Linked DNA regions of Homo sapiens: region 1 is linked to region 2. Evidence: promoter capture Hi-C in 16 types of primary human blood cells and fetal thymus (Javierre and others, 2016). All regions are on one chromosome and are shown on one strand. Each heading gives the region's core, a stretch centred on a gene start or on the middle of the fragment in contact. The rest is flanking DNA. Distances are from core to core; before and after follow the strand shown.

Evidence for each region. The method cuts DNA at HindIII sites, captures the fragments that hold promoters and counts their contacts. A CHiCAGO score of 5 or more calls a contact.
Region 1: a fragment that was not itself captured here is called in contact with the fragment with the promoter of MRGPRD in region 2 in 1 of 17 cell types (total B cells); the score reaches 5.1 in total B cells.

Annotation. Positions count from the first base shown.
Region 1 is chr11:69,659,550-69,662,249 of GRCh38, reverse strand. No RefSeq gene overlaps it. Among named protein-coding and RNA genes, the nearest start is that of LTO1, 14 kb to the left of the region's middle. RefSeq lists enhancers at 395-895, 896-1,396. The HindIII fragment of the contact is 3,510 bases long and covers 1-2,700 here.
Region 2 is chr11:68,979,634-68,982,333 of GRCh38, reverse strand. MRGPRD (MAS related GPR family member D) reads left to right here and starts at 1,348. Exons shown (of 1, transcript NM_198923.2): 1 at 1,348-2,313. The coding sequence starts at 1,348. The coding sequence ends at 2,313. RefSeq lists an enhancer at 1,859-2,368. The HindIII fragment of the contact is 14,944 bases long and covers 1-2,651 here.

The DNA of each region.
Region 1 (2,700 bases), core at 80-2,579, 680 kb before region 2:
GATACCTGAACATGTAGAGTATGTGATGCTTGCTGAGCTAGAGGCTCATGGATTGATGTCCCTCTGCTGGTTCCAGTGAGTATGTGCCCCTGAAATTCGAGGGGACTGTGGAGGCTGCTTCCAGGCTTTGAGAGCCCAAGTCTGTTGCAAATTGAATTGTATCCGCAAAAGGAAACGTTGAAGTCCTAGCTTCTGGTACTTTAGCTTCTGTGACTTTACTTGGAAATAGGAAATAGGGTCTTTGTAGATTTTTTTAAGATGTAAATTGGGCCAGGCGAAGTGGCTCACGCCTGTAATCCCAGCACTTTGGGAGGCTAAGGTAGGTGGATCACGAAGTCAGGAGTTGGAGACCAGCCTGGCCAACACAGTGAAACCCTCTCTCTACTAAAAAGAATAATAATTTAAAAATTAGCCAGGCATGATGGTGGTGCCTGTATTTCCCAGTTACTCGGGAGGCTGAGTGAGGCAAGAGAATCACTTAAACCCGGGAGGCGGAGGTTGCAGTGAGCTGAGATCACGTCACTGCACTCCAGCTCAGGCAACAGAGCAAGACTTTGTCCCCCCCCAAAAAAAAAGATGTAAGTTAAGGTGAGGTCATACTAGAGTAGGGTGGCCCCTTCGTCCAATATGACTGGTGTCCTTTTAAGGGGACGGGAGCCAGTGGCACAGAGGAGAGACTGCCACGTGAAGACATGGGGCCGATAGCCCTGTGAGGACAGAGGCCGAGTTTGGAGCTGCGCATGGACCAGCTGAGAAGAGCCGAAGGTCGCCCGAAACCACCAGAAGCTGGGAGAGAGCGGGCACTGCAGACACTGCTGGCCTCTGGAACTATGAGAGAAATGTTGGTTGTTTTAAGCTGCTGAGTGTGTGAAAATTCATTACAGCAGCCACAGAAAACTACAAGGCCCCTCTCCCTGCCTGGGCTTCGTTTGCTGGTCTGGAGGGTAAGGGTGCCGGCCACACCATCCAGACACTTCTGGCCTTGCATGTGGGGCCTCCTCAGGGATTTGCCTGGACTCCCCCAGGTCTCAGCCGCCACTGAGGGCAAGTGGCGGGAGCCCCCGAAAGGCGCTGTGACCGCAAGGCTCACTCTCCAAGAGGCCTCTGCCTTCTGGGAGGCGCAGCTGCCCTGCACAGAGGACTGAGTCAGGGTCCACCAGAGAAGGCTGGCTTGAGCCTCTCCCCTGGTCTCAGCCCCTGCAGGCACTATCCGGCCTCAGAACTTGGGATATGGATGTGGTCAGGCCCTTTCTCCAGGTCAGTTTGGTCACACGTGTGCTCTGTTACACACAGAGTGTGTGCCATGGAAGAGGGACCTGTCCCTTCAGACAGAGCAGTTCTAGGCATACTTCTGGGCACTGGTGGCCCCAAGAGGAGTCATTCCCTGACCCTGTGGAACTCCCAGCTAAGCAAGACAGGCATGTTGAAATTCCAAGATCACATGGTAACTTTGTCAGTCGCTCCTGTTGTTTATATCAATCATAACATGTTAGATCTAGAAGAGGTAGAAAACACACACAAGCGGCCGGGTGCGGTGGCTCACGCCTGTAATCCTAGCACTTTGGGACGCCGAGGCGGGTGGATCACGAGGTCAGGAGATCGAGACCATCCTGGCTAACACGGTGAAACCCGGTCTCTACTAAAATACAAATAATTAGCTGGGCGTGGTAGCGGGCGCCTGTAGTCCCAGCTACTCGAGAGGCTGAGGCAGGAGAATGGCGTGAATCCGGGAGGCAGAGCTTGCAGTGAGCCGAGAGCAGGCCACTGCACTCCAGCCTGGGCGAGAGTGAGACTCCGTCTCAAAAAAAAAAAAAGAAAACACACACAAGCTGTAATAGTTAAGTGTCTTTGAAAACCAAATGACACAGTGCCCATATCAAACTGACTTAATGAAGGACAATGATTGGCTTCTGGAACAAAAGGGGGATGACTTCAGGAGAGGCTTGATCCAGCAGTTTGTCTGGAGACCCATTCCCTGCTTTCCCTCAGGGCTGGCCTTACGCTCAGCCTCCCCTGTGAGGTCCTGGGAGCAGCTCAGTCTTCCCTTAGGGCTGCAGGGGGGCAGTGCCACCCCTGGGCTTGTGTTTCCCTGCTGGGAATCCTAAGGAAGGGGGAAGCATTATCTTTTTCAGAAGCTCCAGAAAATGTCTCCTCAAGACTCAATGGCTCTATTTGATTTCTCACCCATCCATTAACTTGCTGCTCTTCTGGTGGGTGTGGATGTGCAGTTGGGTTTCAGCCTATGAAGACCTGGCCTGGAGCTGGGGATGGGTTCGGTCCCACTCAAACCACAGATCTGGGAATGGTGGTTCCCTGGAGCAAAGTCTGGGTGCTGTCAACACCAGGAGGGGGCATCCGTGGTGTCAAGAAGACCCAGAACTGTCTACTTAATGTGCCAAAGGAGGGAAGTAAGATCGGCTTTGGTGCCACCACCCAGGCGGCCGCCGTGGCATGGAGGCCTGTGCTTCCAGACCTGGGCAGTGCATGGAATGCTGATGGTGATTATGCGGATGCGCCGAGGGGATGATGGCGTTCCCTGAGTGATCACTGCACCCCAAGCTCGGTGCTCAGCAGTGCTTCACACACATTGAGCCATAGAATCCTCAGCACCCCAGAAAGAATTCAGTTATTGACAGAGATTTATGGAGCCCCCGTTCTGTGCTGGTCGTTGTCGTGAGTAGGAGATGGAGACGACTCCCC
Region 2 (2,700 bases), core at 99-2,598:
AGAGAATGGGAAAACGTAAACATTCCTATTCTGCTGGTACAGGTGAAACCTGAAGCAGCCACTCAGAAAAAGAATTACCAGGCAATATTTAGTGAGACTAAATGTGCATATGTTCTATGACCGAGCAATCCTCCTCCAAGAATGTATCCCAGAAAAATATTGAGTCAAGTCCAATGGGTACATGCATGAGGATGTCCAACACAGTGTTTTGGTGATAATGGGAATTTTGAAGCAAGCTGAGGATCCACAGTAAGGAATGGATAACAGATCAATGTGCATGATGACATTTTAAACCACAACTTTTGCATACAGCCACCTGGATATATCCTACAAACATATTGTCAAGTGAAAAATAAAAAACCCATCATTAATTCTAAATCACAACATTTACGTAAATTTAAAACACAATGGGCAACCACTCCATCTTGAAAGATATTGAGGTGTCCAAGGATTTGCGTGAAACAGGTTGGATGGATGCAAGCGGCAGGAGGAAAAAGGCAGCTAAGATGGGATGGGGAAGGAAACTTGAATAAATGGAGGGTTTTTAATGGGCTGATGCTCATGGTGTGTCTTAAACTAAGGAGTGTAGTTAATTCTACACTTTGCCCTGAGGTCTAATTTTTTTTTTTTTTTAAGAGACAGCATCTCGCTCTGTCTTCCAGGCTGGGGTGCAGTGGCGGGACCATGGCTCACTACAACCTCAATGTGCCAGGCTCAAGCGATCCTCCCGCCTTGGCCTCTCAAGTAGGTGGGACCACAGGTGTGTGCCACCATGCCTGGCTAATTAAAAAAAAAAATTGTAGAGATGAGATCTTGCTATGTGGCCCAGGCTGGTCTCAAACTCCTGGCCTCAAGCAAACCCCAAAGTGCTGGGGTTACAGGCATGCACCACCACGCCCAGCCCTAAGGTCTATTGTTTTTTTAATTAACTCACAGGGTTTGACAATTACAGGAGAAAAAAAAAATGATTTCAAATGTTTCTATCAAATAGTTTTTCTACATCTATTGATAATAATGATTTTTCTATAATAGATGTAGAAAAAGCATTTGATAAAATTCAATACCTCTCCATGATTTAAAAAATAATTCAAAGCAAGATAGAAGAGAATTTTTTAACCTGATAAAGGGTATTTATAACAGCTTTGTAGCTATAAAGGTGACCCTGGAGGCAGATCTGGGCTGAGTGAGTCACAGGAGTGGGGGAAGGTTAAGCCTCCCGGTCATGGTCTGTTACATAAAGAACCTGGAGGGGAGAGCTCTGAAGCTGGAAATTCGAGGGGCACCCAGGGGTCCCCCGTGGTCCCAGCAACACAGAATTTCACATTGGTACATCTTCCTCTCGTAGGGATGAACCAGACTTTGAATAGCAGTGGGACCGTGGAGTCAGCCCTAAACTATTCCAGAGGGAGCACAGTGCACACGGCCTACCTGGTGCTGAGCTCCCTGGCCATGTTCACCTGCCTGTGCGGGATGGCAGGCAACAGCATGGTGATCTGGCTGCTGGGCTTTCGAATGCACAGGAACCCCTTCTGCATCTATATCCTCAACCTGGCGGCAGCCGACCTCCTCTTCCTCTTCAGCATGGCTTCCACGCTCAGCCTGGAAACCCAGCCCCTGGTCAATACCACTGACAAGGTCCACGAGCTGATGAAGAGACTGATGTACTTTGCCTACACAGTGGGCCTGAGCCTGCTGACGGCCATCAGCACCCAGCGCTGTCTCTCTGTCCTCTTCCCTATCTGGTTCAAGTGTCACCGGCCCAGGCACCTGTCAGCCTGGGTGTGTGGCCTGCTGTGGACACTCTGTCTCCTGATGAACGGGTTGACCTCTTCCTTCTGCAGCAAGTTCTTGAAATTCAATGAAGATCGGTGCTTCAGGGTGGACATGGTCCAGGCCGCCCTCATCATGGGGGTCTTAACCCCAGTGATGACTCTGTCCAGCCTGACCCTCTTTGTCTGGGTGCGGAGGAGCTCCCAGCAGTGGCGGCGGCAGCCCACACGGCTGTTCGTGGTGGTCCTGGCCTCTGTCCTGGTGTTCCTCATCTGTTCCCTGCCTCTGAGCATCTACTGGTTTGTGCTCTACTGGTTGAGCCTGCCGCCCGAGATGCAGGTCCTGTGCTTCAGCTTGTCACGCCTCTCCTCGTCCGTAAGCAGCAGCGCCAACCCCGTCATCTACTTCCTGGTGGGCAGCCGGAGGAGCCACAGGCTGCCCACCAGGTCCCTGGGGACTGTGCTCCAACAGGCGCTTCGCGAGGAGCCCGAGCTGGAAGGTGGGGAGACGCCCACCGTGGGCACCAATGAGATGGGGGCTTGAGAGCCGCCCACAGGTGCTTCCCACCTGTGCGAGCCCATGCCCTGGAGATTCCCGAGCCGTGAGCTGCCTCCCACCTCGTCCCTGCCAAGTGTCTGGCCCGCCTTCTTGGGGGAGCCCCAAGGACTTTGCAGCTGCATGTGGGGGTCACTTCCCTGCATGTCAAAACTCCCCACAACACCTGTGTCCTGGATCTCACAATGCAACCCCGCTGGAAGATGCAATTTATTTGTTTATAGCAGATTATCTGGTTGGGGGAAAATATTAGCTTTTAGCCCTACCCTGCTTTAAGCTGGTTATCTATGGGTGGATAACAGGAATCTCATTTGAATATGAAAGCTTTCTCCCAACCACCTTCTCTGCCTAAGACGGCATCTTTGTGGAGGAGGC